Regions from separate parts of the Homo sapiens genome. Here regions 1 and 2 are each linked to region 3. The links are contacts of gene promoters, found by promoter capture Hi-C in human tissues and cell types (Jung and others, 2019). All regions are on one chromosome and are shown on one strand. The core of a region is centred on a gene start or on the middle of the fragment in contact, and the rest is flanking DNA. Distances in the headings are between cores, read along the strand shown.

Region 1 (4,119 bases), core at 1-2,500, 51 kb after region 3:
CGAGTACCAGAACCGCACGGAGGGGCTCCTGGGTGAGGGCGGCTCGGACCTGCCTCTGAGGCTCCGCGGAGCCAGCCGGAGCTCGGACCCCCACGCCGGCGGCCCGGGCAGCCCTGCTCGGCCTCCCTTTCTCCGCCTCCTTGGAGCAGAACCCTTGGGGCACAGAGCGGGCCGGGAGCCGAGGGGCTTCTCCAGCCTCCCCCGAGGCTCCCTTCCTGTCCTCCGCCCGCTCTAAGGGAGCATCAGGGGGGGCTGCGGGGAGGCGGGGGGCACAGCCATCCTTTCTCCCTTTCCTCTTGCCTCCCACATCCTCCCGCCCTCCTCCACCGCTGCCCGCGTTTCCTCCCGCCCCTCCCGAAGGCAGACGGGCAGGGTGTGAGGGCCCGTCCTCCCGGCTCCCCTGGAGGCCTGACAGCAGGTGCAAGAGCAGAGGCTGCCAGGCCCTGGCCTCTCCCCACTGCGTCCGCCGGATGCTCCCCAGGAAGGGGACAGCCGCGTGCCCAGGGTGGCCAACCTCCCACTCTGTCCCTCAGGGGTCTGGAATAACAATCCAGAGGACGACTTCAGGATGCCCAATGGCTCCACCATTCCCCCAGGGAGCCCTGAGGAGATGCTTTTCCACTTTGGAATGACCTGTGAGTCTGGGCAGGGTCCTGGGGCAGAGGGGCAGGTGAGGGGAGCCGGTATGTTTATGTCGTCCCCCTCGGCCCTGTAGGAAGCAGACCTCCATCCTCCCTAAGGTCTGAGGAATCTGTGCCCCCCCAGGGCTGTCCCCACCACCACCAGCCCACCTGCCTCTCTCTACCTGGAGGAGAGAATGGGGGACGTGGAGTGTCCTCTCTCACTGCAGCAGGTGTTTCTAGACTCAGAAGCTGGAAACCGCTCTGGCCCTGCACTCCCACCGCCCCGCTCCAAGCCATCTAAAGTGAGGGGTAGAGGTGGACACAGATGGAATAAGGCTGAGTGCCATGCCTGGTACCACCGCGCTCTGTGTGTTACAGGGCAGATCAACGGGACAGGCCTCCTTGGCAAGAGGAATGACCAGCTGCCTTCCAACTTCACCCCTGTTTTCTACTCACAACTGCAAAAAAACAGCTCCTGGGCTGAACATTTGATCTCCAACTGTGACGGAGATAGCTCATGCATCTATGACACCCTGGCCCTGCGCAACGCAAGCATCGGACTTCACACGAGGGAAGTCAGTAAAAACTACGAGCAGGCGAACGCCACCCTCAGTAAGTGGCCCGAGGCCTGGGGAGGCCTTTTCAGAGTCGGGAGCAGATGAGGAGCTGCCCTTGCCTGACCCTGCTTTTCCCTGTGCATCTGCATTCACTGAGCAGATTCTTCCACTCCTGGCATTCCTCTGCTCAAACCCTTCAGAGACTTCCCTGGCTCTCTCCATCCTTGCAGTGGCCTTCGGCCCAGTTCAGCTTCTCAGAGCTCTTCTCCTAGTGCTGGACGCCTTCCCAGCCCCCTCCGTCCATCCTAGCGCTGGATGCCTTCCCAGCCCCCTTCACTCCATACTAGCGCTGGACGCCTTCCCAGCCCCCTCCACTCCATCCTAGCGCTGGACCCCTTCCCAGCCCCCTCCATCCATCCTAGCGCTGGATGCCTTCCCAGCCCCCTCCACTCCATCCTAGCGCTGGACCCCTTCCCAGCTCCCTGCACTCCAGCCCCGCAGGCTCCTCTGTGTTCTTCAAACACGCTAGGTGCGCTCAGCTCCCAGGCTTCACACGTGCTGTTCTCTTGCCTGGAATACCCTTCCTTCCCTGGACAGCCACACGCTTGCCCCTCACCTTCTTTACGTCTTCATTCCAATGTCCCCTCCTTGGTGAGGCCTCTCTTGGCCGCCCTGTCTAAAATGTCACATTCACCCACACTTCATGTTTGCCTTCCCTGCTTTATTTTTTTCTCCTTAGCATTTATAATTACTCAACATATTTTATAATTTTCACAGGTATCTTTTTAATTATTCATTCATGACTGTATCCTCACCACCCAGAACAGTGCCAGCCACTTAGCTCAATAAATGTTTGTTAAATGACTGACTGAATGAATGTGTGAAGCAACTATGAAATGGAAATGGCAGGGCTCCGAGAAACAGACCCGTGAAGAGGTTTCACTCCCTCTCTATTTCTGGACAAATGCAATGTCCCTTTAGATGTGACCCTCCAGGTTTTGTGCGTGTGTGTGTGTGTGTTGACGGAGTTTCGCTCTTGTTGCCCAGGCTGGAGTGCAGTGACGTGATCTCGGCTCGTCGCAACCTCTGCTTCCCGGGTTCAAGCGATTCTTCTGTTTCAGCCTCCTGAATAGCTGAGATTACAGGCACCCGCCACCATGCCTGACTAATTTTGTATTTTTAGTAGAGACAGGGTTTCACCATGTTGGTCAGGCTGGTCGCGAACTCCTGACCTCAGGTTATCCACCGGCCTCGGCCTCCCAAAGTGCTGGGATTACAGACATGAGACACCCAGCACCCTTCAGGTTTTCAGCCCTTTGCCAAAGGTACAACCCTTTGGTCTAAGGGTACAACCCTTTGTAATGGTCCAAACAAATCTGCTCTCTAATTCACTTTTTGTCATACCCAGCATAGCACTGTGTTCAGGAAAGAATCTGAAAGGAGCTCTTTTTGAGGAGGTGGGGGGAGAGAAAGAGGCTAAAGATTTGGCTAGGTGGGCAGTACAGTCCCAGCCTGCTGTGCGTCAGTCGAGAGCAGGTACACAGAATAATTCCTTCTTCCAGAGGTGGGTCACAGTCCTGGGAATGCCTCACACATATTAGAGTTGAGAAAGAGAGGAGGCTGATAAAGCAGGAGACTGTCCTGCCTCGGAACCCCCATTCCCTCTTTGTGTTTCAGATCAGTACCCGCCCTCCATCAATGGTGGTCGTGTGATTGAAGCCTACAAGGGGCAGACCACGCTGATTCAGTACACCAGCAATGCTGAGGATGCCAACTTCACGCTCAGAGACAGCTGCACCGACTTGGAGCTCTTTGGTAGGACTATTTGGCTGGCTGGGGAGAGTGGGGAGGTGGGTAGGGGATGAGGTCAGAGTCAAATTTGGGAAATTCTGCATTGCTACACCCAGCAACACTTGCTGTCACTCTTTCATTTGAATATCCAGGACCGGCATTTCCGAGGAGCGATATCTATAACTCAAATAGGTGCCCCCCAGTAAGTAGTAGTGACGGGCTTACGGCGGTTTGGCCAGATAGCTAGAGTGACTCTGGGCACATAGAACTGATTCAAGGCTGGGCGCGGTGGCTCATGCCTGTCATCCCAGCGCTTTGGGAGGCCGAGGTGGGCGGATCATCTGAGGTCAGGAGTTCGAGACCAGTCTGGCCAACATGGTGAAACCCCGTCTGTACTAAAAATACAAAAAAAAAAAAAAAAGCCAGGCATGGTGGTGCATGCCTGTAATCCCAGCTACTCAGGAGACTGAGGCAGGAGAATCGCTTGAACCCAGGAGGCAGATGTTGCAGTGAGCTGAGATCGCGTCACTGCACTCCAGCCTGGTGACAGAGCGAGACTCTGTCTCAAAAAAAAGATTTGAAGATCATTTAATCTCAATCTGATCATATATAGTCATCTTTAGTCATTATGCATTCACCAAATTATTAGAATAATCAAGTGCAACATTTAAAATGACCAATTTACAACATTTTTATATCTATTAAAGGAAGGCTCTAATGTAGGACAAGATTTAAAGAAATATGAAAAATACTTTCGTTTGGTACCTTTCTTGCTCTTTTTGTCTGGCAACCATGTTTACCTAGCCGTGTCTCTCCTTGTCTGGTTTCCTGGGCTAGGACCCAGTAGAGTGCCATCGCTCCCTCTCCGTAAAGGTGTTAGAGACCCCGAGCCCTACATCCATGATCAGGGCCAAAGGCTCCAAGCACAAGGGACGCTGCTTTCGTCTGTTGCCAGCACTAATTCAAAGGGTCCAAGGGCATCAAAGGGATGCCACTTTCTGTCTGTTGCCAGCACTAATTCTGAGGGTGACTGTTCTTGGCTAAACCAAAGCCCCGGGGGGCATATTTTGCGTTCTCTTTGCCTCTCTGCCTGATGTTCTTTCTCTCTGTGTCTCAGAAGGGACTGCTTTGCCTGCATCCCTTTTGCC
Region 2 (3,719 bases), core at 393-2,892, 51 kb before region 3:
TGATTTGCATCCACATAGGCTTTGGGCTCTATCCCACCTGTCGTCTTCGGATTCTCTAATACGCAGGAGTGCTCTTCTGTTAGTTTACTCATAGTTTATTAAAGTACAGAGAAAAGACATCCAGGATGATAAATTTTACAGTCCTTGCCGGGGACTGCCAGCTTCCAGTGGTGTTGCCTGGCACCAGTGTGACCCCCGGTGCCTGCCCCGCTGAACCTTCTGTAAACTGTTTAACTGTGCTGGTGGTTTCCCATTCTCTAGGCGCTGAGATGCGTCTGGAGAGCCAGAGGGCCTGCCTGAAGGAATCACCTGAGCCTGTCCGTCCACCAGGAGTGGGGAGATGCCCCCATCCAGTCCTGGAGGACCCGCTGCTCCTGCTGCTCCCGGGGATGGAGCAAGGCCAAGGCTGCGGGAGGCTGGGAGCCCTGCCCTGCCCATCCCTCCTGCACCAGCGCTGTCCCTGCACACTTTGGTTCAGTCCCGGTGCCCCTGCCAAGATGTGGAAGGGGCCGGGTGAAGACAGGCTTGAGGGCTGCCCCAGCAGGCTCTGGGTATGACCTGCCTCTGGCCCTGGTCCTGGGCGGGGCCTGTGGGTGGAGTAGTACCCCCAGGCCCTGCCCTGGGTGACAGACTGGGAGGAAACCAGGCTGGACCTGGGCAGGCGGGATGTGTTGGCCACAGGGAGAGGCGGACCGGCACCCGGTGGGACCTCCTAGGACTGGGCCTTCTTCCAGGGGGCCCCTGGCAGCAGCTGGGGTGTCGGGCAGAATGTGACTTGTGGCCTTACCATGGACTTGAATGGGACTTGGCTGGCCTCAGGATCTTGTGCCTGGAAATAGCCTGAGGTGGCTCAGGAAGCGGAGAAAGGGTGCCAGACCATTCTCTGGCGGGGACCAGGGCCCAAGGCCCCAGGGCTGGAAGGAGACCAAGGGGCAGCCGCCCTGGAGGGACATCAGTGCTTCCTCTTCCACCCAATTCCCCCACGCGGTTCCATGTTTTCCCACCAGCCTGTTGGCGAAGTTGCTGCTCCGGCATTCAGTACCTGCTTCTTCCAGAGAAATAAAGTTAGTTTCTATTTTATGTTACTTACTTGTGCCTGCCTGTTTCTTTGCCTGTTAGTCAGCAAGCTCCAGGCCCCAAGCGAGGCTCCCCAGGCCACCAGCATCTGCTCCGGGCAGCAGGCCTTGTAGCACCACCTGGAGGCAGCGGGAGGGCGCGCAGGCCTGGACACCGGGAGGCCTCTTCCCTTACACGGCCGGCAGCGGGGCCAGAGTCCCCGCCGGTCTGGTCAGTGACTTTCACACTGCCTGGATTTCACTTGCCGCGTGGACTTCTGTAAGGCAGGATATATACTGCAGGAGAGAGTACAGCAACCCAGTTAAATAGAACCAAGCCAGAAATGTTAGCAACAAGGAACCCTTCAATATGTTAGGTATTTTAATTGCTTTTCTGAATAACTCATGTTCATACGGTTCAAAATTGAAAAGGCACTGAGGAGTGTACAGTGAAATGACTGGGTATCACCCACCGCGGCCGTCCACTTCCCCAGTGCAGAGACGCCTGTATCACCAGTTTCTTGTGTAGTGCTTGTTTTTGTTTTTACTTAATAATATTTTGAAGAATTCCATAGCAATACTGAACGTGCTTCCCCATTCTTTTTTTTTTTTTTTTTTTTGAGACAGTTTTGCTCTTGTTGCCCAGGCTGGAGTACAGTGGTGCGATCTCTGCTCACTGCAACCTCTGCCTCCCAGGTTCAAGCAATTCTCCTGCCTCAGCCTCTGAGTAGCTGGGATTACAGGCACGTGCCACCACACCCAGCCAATTTTTGTATTTTTAGTAGAGATGGGGTTTCTCCATGTTGGCCAGGCTGGTCTCAAACTCTTGACCTCAGGTGATCCGCCTGCCTCAGCCTCCCGAAGTGCTAGGATTATAGGCATGAGCCACCGCGCCCGGCTGGGCTTCCCCATTCTTTCGGGTTGCGTGGATGCACGGGTGTACCATAACCTACTTAACTGGGTTCCTTTTGATGAAGGGCAATTTTAGTTGCATCCAGTCCTTCGCAATTACAACCATTGCCTCAGTAAATTGTGTATGTGGGCTGTTTTTCACTCGCACGTCAATCTGAAGATGAGTTCCCAGCAGTGGGACTGCTAGGTCAAAGGGCGTGTGCCATGGCGGTGGGTGGTGCTGAACCTGCTCTCAGCGGAGGGACATTCTCAGTTGTCACACCACCTGTGCAAGGGAGCTTTCCATGTGTTAAGGAGTTTTCTGATCTTTGGCAGACTGACTGGTAGAAAATAGTGTTTCTATAGTTTTAATATGCATTTCTCTTACGAATAAACTCAAAAATAAGTTGAGCCATTTGTATTTCCTTTTTAATGAGTTGCCTATTAATATCCTTGGCCCATTACAAAATGTTAGATTATTCATCGGTTTCTTACTGCTTTCCAGGAAATTACTGGATCAATCAAGGAAACTAGCTCTTTGAGCTTCACATATGATCATGTGAACTTTAGGAAAAGAGGTAAATCATAAGAAAGTAAGCTTAATGACTCGGGTTTATTGAAAACAAAACAGAGGCCATTCAGGGTGAGTCTGGGCCACGTGTGTGTCTGGCTGTAGGCTGGCCTTCGTGGGTAGGCCCCGAGGCTCAGAAGTTCTGAGGCCTGGGAGCTTTGCATATGCCGTTTGCAAAGGCAGGAATTCTATTATTTTAACTGTGATTTAAAATACCTAGTCAAATATATCACAAAAGGGAACAAGTTTTTTTTTTTTTTTTTTTTTTTGAGACGGCATCTTGCTCTGTTGCCCAGGCTAGAGTGCAGTGGTGCAATCTCGGCTCACTGCAACCTCTGCCTCCTGGGTTCAAGTGATTCTCCTGCCTCCGCCACCTGAGTAGCTGGGACCACAGGCGCACACCACCACACCCGACTAATTTTTGGATTTTTAATTTTTGGATTTTTAGTAGAGATGGGGTTTCACCATACTGGTCAGCCTGGTCTTGAACTCCTGACCTCATGATCCGCCCGCCTCGGCCTCCCAAAGTGCTGGGATTACAGGCGTGAGCCACCGCATCCAGCCAGAACAAGTTCATATTAAGTGAGTGTTGAGCATTGCTGTTAGACCTGGATTTCATTCCTAGCTCTGTTTCGTCTTAGAAATGTTATTTCACCTTTCTGAGTCTGTAAACTGATGGAGTAATTCCTGCCTTATAGAAGGGTTGTGAGGACTGACTGAGGTTGTGAAGGTGAAACATTTTGCTTAGAGTATGGGCCACAGTCAGTTCCCACCAAACAGTAGTTATTATAAATGTTATTTCCCCGTGTTCCTGCCTGTTTCTATTAATCAATAGCTCACATTATACACTGACCACACTCTGCGCATAGAATTGTGTTTTACTTTTCTCATTTTCCTTCTGTTTCAGAAAGTTTATTCTTTTGCTCACAATTATCCTATTTATAGATCATAGGTGTTTTTACTTCATTTTAAAAAACACATCAATTTTTTGTAAGCAATCCAGATGTGTGTATGCTTTACAAGCATTTAAAAATCTGTTTCAGAGCCAACACATCCAGAAAGATTTTTGCAGGGGGCAGAGGATGTCAAAGCAGCTCGAGGTTTCTCAGGGGAGCAGGGAACCCAGTGTACTTTTCCTGCCAGACACACAGTTCCCTAAACCCTGGGTTTCCTGCTATGTTTTTCTTGCTTCTAATCGGCCT
Region 3 (4,088 bases), core at 438-2,937:
GGGAGGCGGAGCTTGCAGTGAGCTGAGATGGTGCCACTGCACTCCAGCCTGGGCGACAGAGCAAGACTCCATCTCAAAAAAAAAAAAAAGTGCAAAATGATCACGAAGGCCAAGCTGGGCCTTGGTGTCTGCGAATTCCCTGCAGTAGGTCCCTCCTGCTGCCCCGTCCAGGCGCCCACAGGATGCTCCACATGACTCTTTACCTTTATGATTTTCTTACCTCCAGGAAAGAACAGGGTCAGCTCGTCCACCCAGAGCTGGAGGGACTGTTGGGGGACCACGCCACTTCCCCACGGTATCCGCATTATTATGGCGTGGCCCAGGCTTTGGCCTGGGGCCATGAACAGACTTTCAGCTTCTAGAAGCAAGTGGTCACAGGGCCTCCGTGACCCTCGGAGACAGCGCCACAGCGTCGGTTGCCTACTCCTTGCTGGACAAGGCTGGCTCTGCTTGGGAATGCAGAAACCCTGAGTCCTTGTCCTGGGCCCCACAGTGTCTGAGCATCGAAGGTCCCTGCTCTGGGACGAGTCACCCCACAGACACCCCACATTCGGGAATCAAGTCTTGAGGAATCAGAAGCAGAGATTCACACTGTGGCAAAGAGGGGAGCGGAGGTATCCCCGTTTTCCTTTGCAGAGAGCTACACCAACTGCCCTCTTCGTCTTTACAACCCTACTTGGGGTCCCTTTCCCTCCTCGCTTGTGCCTGTGAGTTCCAAGAGGTGGAACTGGGGTGAGCAGAGCCCCCAGGTCTCCAGGAGCAGCTCCACCTCCTCACAGGTTACAGTCGCTTCCTCCTACCGAGGTTCTGCCTTCAACCCACTGCCCATGCCAGCTCCCTCAGGCCAGTCTCCCAGACTGTCCCTGGCTCCCTGCACCCTGGCTCCAGCTCCCTGCCCTGGAAAGAAGAAGTCCACCATCTGGTGAGGGTCTGCCACGCATCTGGGGTCTGCCATGCGTCTGCACTGAGGTTCTGCCACGAGTCTGCACTGAGGTTCTGCCATGCGTCTGGAGTCTGCCACGCGTCTGGGGTCTGCCACGCGTCTGGAGTCTGCCATGGGTCTGGGGTCTGCCATGTGTCTGGGATCTGCCGTGCGTCTGGGGTCTGCCACGCATCTGCACTGAGGTTCTGCCACGCGTCTGGGGTCTGCCACGCGTCTGGGGTCTGCCACGCGTCTGGGGTCTGCCACGCGCCTGCACTGAGCAGATATTCCAAGCACACCACCCCTTTCCAAAAGACGGCATACAGTGCATTTCTGTTCCTGCCCCTCACCCACATGGTTCCCCGCTTCCCAATTCCTTGGGGTCTGCTTAAGTCTCACTCTCTTTCCCCCATTCATACAGCCCCAAGGTCGCTCCCTCTGGGGCCCTTTCTTCCCCATTCTTCCCAGCAGCCCAAAGCTCTGGTGGGACAGGGGCAGCCCCTGGGGAGGGAGGAGAGGACCCAGGAACCCGGCTAGGAGGGTGGCCCACCCATTTCCAGTGTGACCTGTTCCCATTCCCCCATGTCTCCTCCCATCCCTCCCGCCACTCAGCTCAGGCTGATGAGAAGCAGAGCAACGGGTGTATCGGTGTTTTCTTTCCTGGTGGGGTAGTGGGGTGGGGCTGAGGAGAGAAAAGGGTGATTAGCGTGGGGCCCCGCCCTCTTTTGTCCTCTTCCCAGGTTCCCTGGCCCCTTCGGAGAAACGCACTTGGTTCGGGCCAGCCGCCTGAGGGGACGGGCTCACGTCTGCTCCTCACACTGCAGCTGCTGGGCCGTGGAGCTTCCCCAGGGAGCCAGGGGGACTTTTGCCGCAGCCATGAAGGGGGCACGCTGGAGGAGGGTCCCCTGGGTGTCCCTGAGCTGCCTGTGTCTCTGCCTCCTTCCGCATGTGGTCCCAGGTAAGTGATGGAGACAGCAGATGAGGCTGGCTGCGGGGAGCACTTGGGGGAGGTGGGAGCTGTCAGAGAAAGAGGTCCGGGGAGACAGAGAGAGAGAGAGAGAGAATAGGGGAAAGGGAGACAGCGAAGAGGAAGAGAAGGGAGAGAAAAAGAGGGAGAGGGAAAGGAGAAAGAGATGAATGGGACAACATGGGGGGAAGGTGGAGAGAGACCCAGAGAGGGAAAGAAGAGGAAGAGAAGAGGGAGAGAGAAAGAAGAGTGGAGGCCGTGCGCGGTGGCTCATGCCTGTAATCCCAGCACTTTCGGAGGCCAAGGCAGGAGATCACCTGAGGTCAGGAGTTCGAGACCAGCCTGGCCGACATGGTGAAACCCCGTCTCTACTAAATATACAAAAATTAGCCGGTCGTGGTGGGCCCCACCTGTAATTCCAGCTACTCAGGAGTCTGAGGCAGGAGAATCACTTGAACCTGGGAGGTGGAGGTTGCAGTGAGCCAAGATCGCGCCACTGCACTCCAGCCTGGGAGAGAGAGCGAGACTCTGTCTCAAAATAAATAAATAAATAAATAAATAAATAAATAAATAAATAAATATAAAATAAAATAAAAAATAAGAAGAGGAGAAAAGTGGGGAAGAGGAGGCATGAACTGGCAGATACGGGACAAGATCTGAGGGGAAAGACAGAGGGAGAATGCTCGAAAGAGAGAGAAAAGAGAACAGAGGGCCAGAGAGCAGCCCGGCGATGTCTGGAAGGATCCATGGTGAGAGCCCAGGCTTACTCGCAGAGAGAAAGACAGGCAGAGCCAGAGCAAGAGGAACAGAGTCAAGGAGAAAGATGTACACCCTTGTGTACAGAGCTGGGGGTAGAGGGGATGCCAGGAAAGCTGGGTGATGGAGACGGAAGAAAACTCATGTAAAGCTGCAGGGTGAGAGGACGAGACAGGTGAGACGCAGACAAACTGAGGACCCTGGGAATGGAGAGAGGAGAAGATCGGGAGACAGCAGCAAGCAAGGGAAGCGACAAGGAGGAGAGGGGCAGGCCGGCCGGGAGGGTGGTGCGGAGGAGGCGGCCAGGGCGCAGAGGGCCGGGAGGTGCTGGCCGTGGGCTTCTTACCTCTGAGCTCGGGTTTAAAAGCCTCCATTTGGGTCACGGCCTTGCCTGGGGCTCGTAGCCCCGGCATTGGCCTTGGGCTCCTCCGTGTACAGAGCTGGGAGGGGAGGGATGCCAGGCCTGTGGGAGATGTTCCCTCGGGGGCCCCCGTCCTCTTCCCCACACTTTCCAGGCTGTCCCTCTGGCTTCAGGACCAAGTTTTATTCTGTGTTTCTGGGTGTCTGAGTCTTTGGGGGAGAGTCTGGGGTCCAGAGTTCAAGCTGGGGTTAGAGTCTCAGCTCCTGCCCTGCCTCTCAGCAGGCTAAGAACAGTCGCCGAGGGAAAATATTTCTTGGGCGCATATTTGAGGAGCTTCCTGGGAGTGAGTCAGAAGGCGAGTGCCGTTTAAAGGCTGCAAGAGAAGCCATGCTGGTGAAGCGGACCCTTCCACCTCGGGATGTTTCAGGACTAGGCTGAGGGCAAAGGAAACTGCCACCACCTCCCTACACCTCCCCACCCTCCAGCACCCCCACCCCACCCTGGCCACACAACCCCGCTCCAGTGCTCATCCCACCGTGAGGACGTGGAGGCCGGAAGGAGCCGCCACACGGCCCTGCCCTGCAGATGTGGTTGAAGGAGTCTCCACGGGAATCATGACTCCCAGAGCGAGGCTGGGGCTTGGGGCGCCGGGGAGGCAGCTTGGATTTAGGAGCCCCAGGGCCAAGTCTTTGCCGTGAACTGTTCTGGCCCCTGTGACCAGGCCCTGCCCCGTGTCTCCCCAGGGCCCCGGTCCCCTGTGTAAAAAGCAGTGGTGAACGGTTGGACCTCCTGACGCCCAAGTTCTTGAGTTTCCAAATCTGTGATTTAAAGCTGAGCCCAAATGTGCTGGGTACCAGCTGGACACTCAGCTCCATGTGGAGCCAGGAAGTGGGGTCTGTGGAGAGGAGCGCAGAGGGGCAAGACCTGGGGTGGGCGTGGAAAAGCACGGGGGCGTGACCCGGAGAAGGAGTGAAGGACTGTTGGTGTGCAAGGGCGTCTCCATGACGACCCGAAGAAGCTAGGCATGTCGTGGAGCGCTGAGTCCTTTGCGTCGCTAAGGGGACCAAGTGGAGCTGGGCCAG

What was found. Contacts are between HindIII fragments. The study calls those that stand out against the background at their distance.
Region 1: a fragment that was not itself captured here is called in contact with the fragment with the promoter of MUC4 in region 3 in 1 of the 25 tissues and cell types used here (mesenchymal stem cells).
Region 2: a contact is called between a fragment that was not itself captured here and the fragment with the promoter of MUC4 in region 3, in 4 of the 25 tissues and cell types used here (aorta, lymphoblastoid cells, ovary and 1 more).

What each region holds. Positions count from the first base shown.
Region 1 is chr3:195,758,000-195,762,118 of GRCh38, reverse strand. It overlaps MUC4 (mucin 4, cell surface associated), which reads left to right. Exons shown (of 25, transcript NM_018406.7): 14 at 1-32; 15 at 534-635; 16 at 1,002-1,235; 17 at 2,858-2,995. Among named protein-coding and RNA genes, the nearest start is that of MUC20, 39 kb to the right of the region's middle. The HindIII fragment of the contact is 7,333 bases long and covers 1-4,119 here.
Region 2 is chr3:195,860,730-195,864,448 of GRCh38, reverse strand. TNK2 (tyrosine kinase non receptor 2) reads left to right here. Exons shown (of 16, transcript NM_001382273.1): 16 at 262-1,085. The coding sequence ends at 268. Among named protein-coding and RNA genes, the nearest start is that of LINC01983, 2.2 kb to the right of the region's middle. RefSeq lists an enhancer at 3,611-3,719. The HindIII fragment of the contact is 7,484 bases long and covers 1-3,719 here.
Region 3 is chr3:195,809,528-195,813,615 of GRCh38, reverse strand. MUC4 (mucin 4, cell surface associated) reads left to right here and starts at 1,687. Exons shown (of 25, transcript NM_018406.7): 1 at 1,687-1,880. The coding sequence starts at 1,799. RefSeq lists enhancers at 3,427-3,990, 3,991-4,088. The HindIII fragment of the contact is 26,053 bases long and covers 1-4,088 here.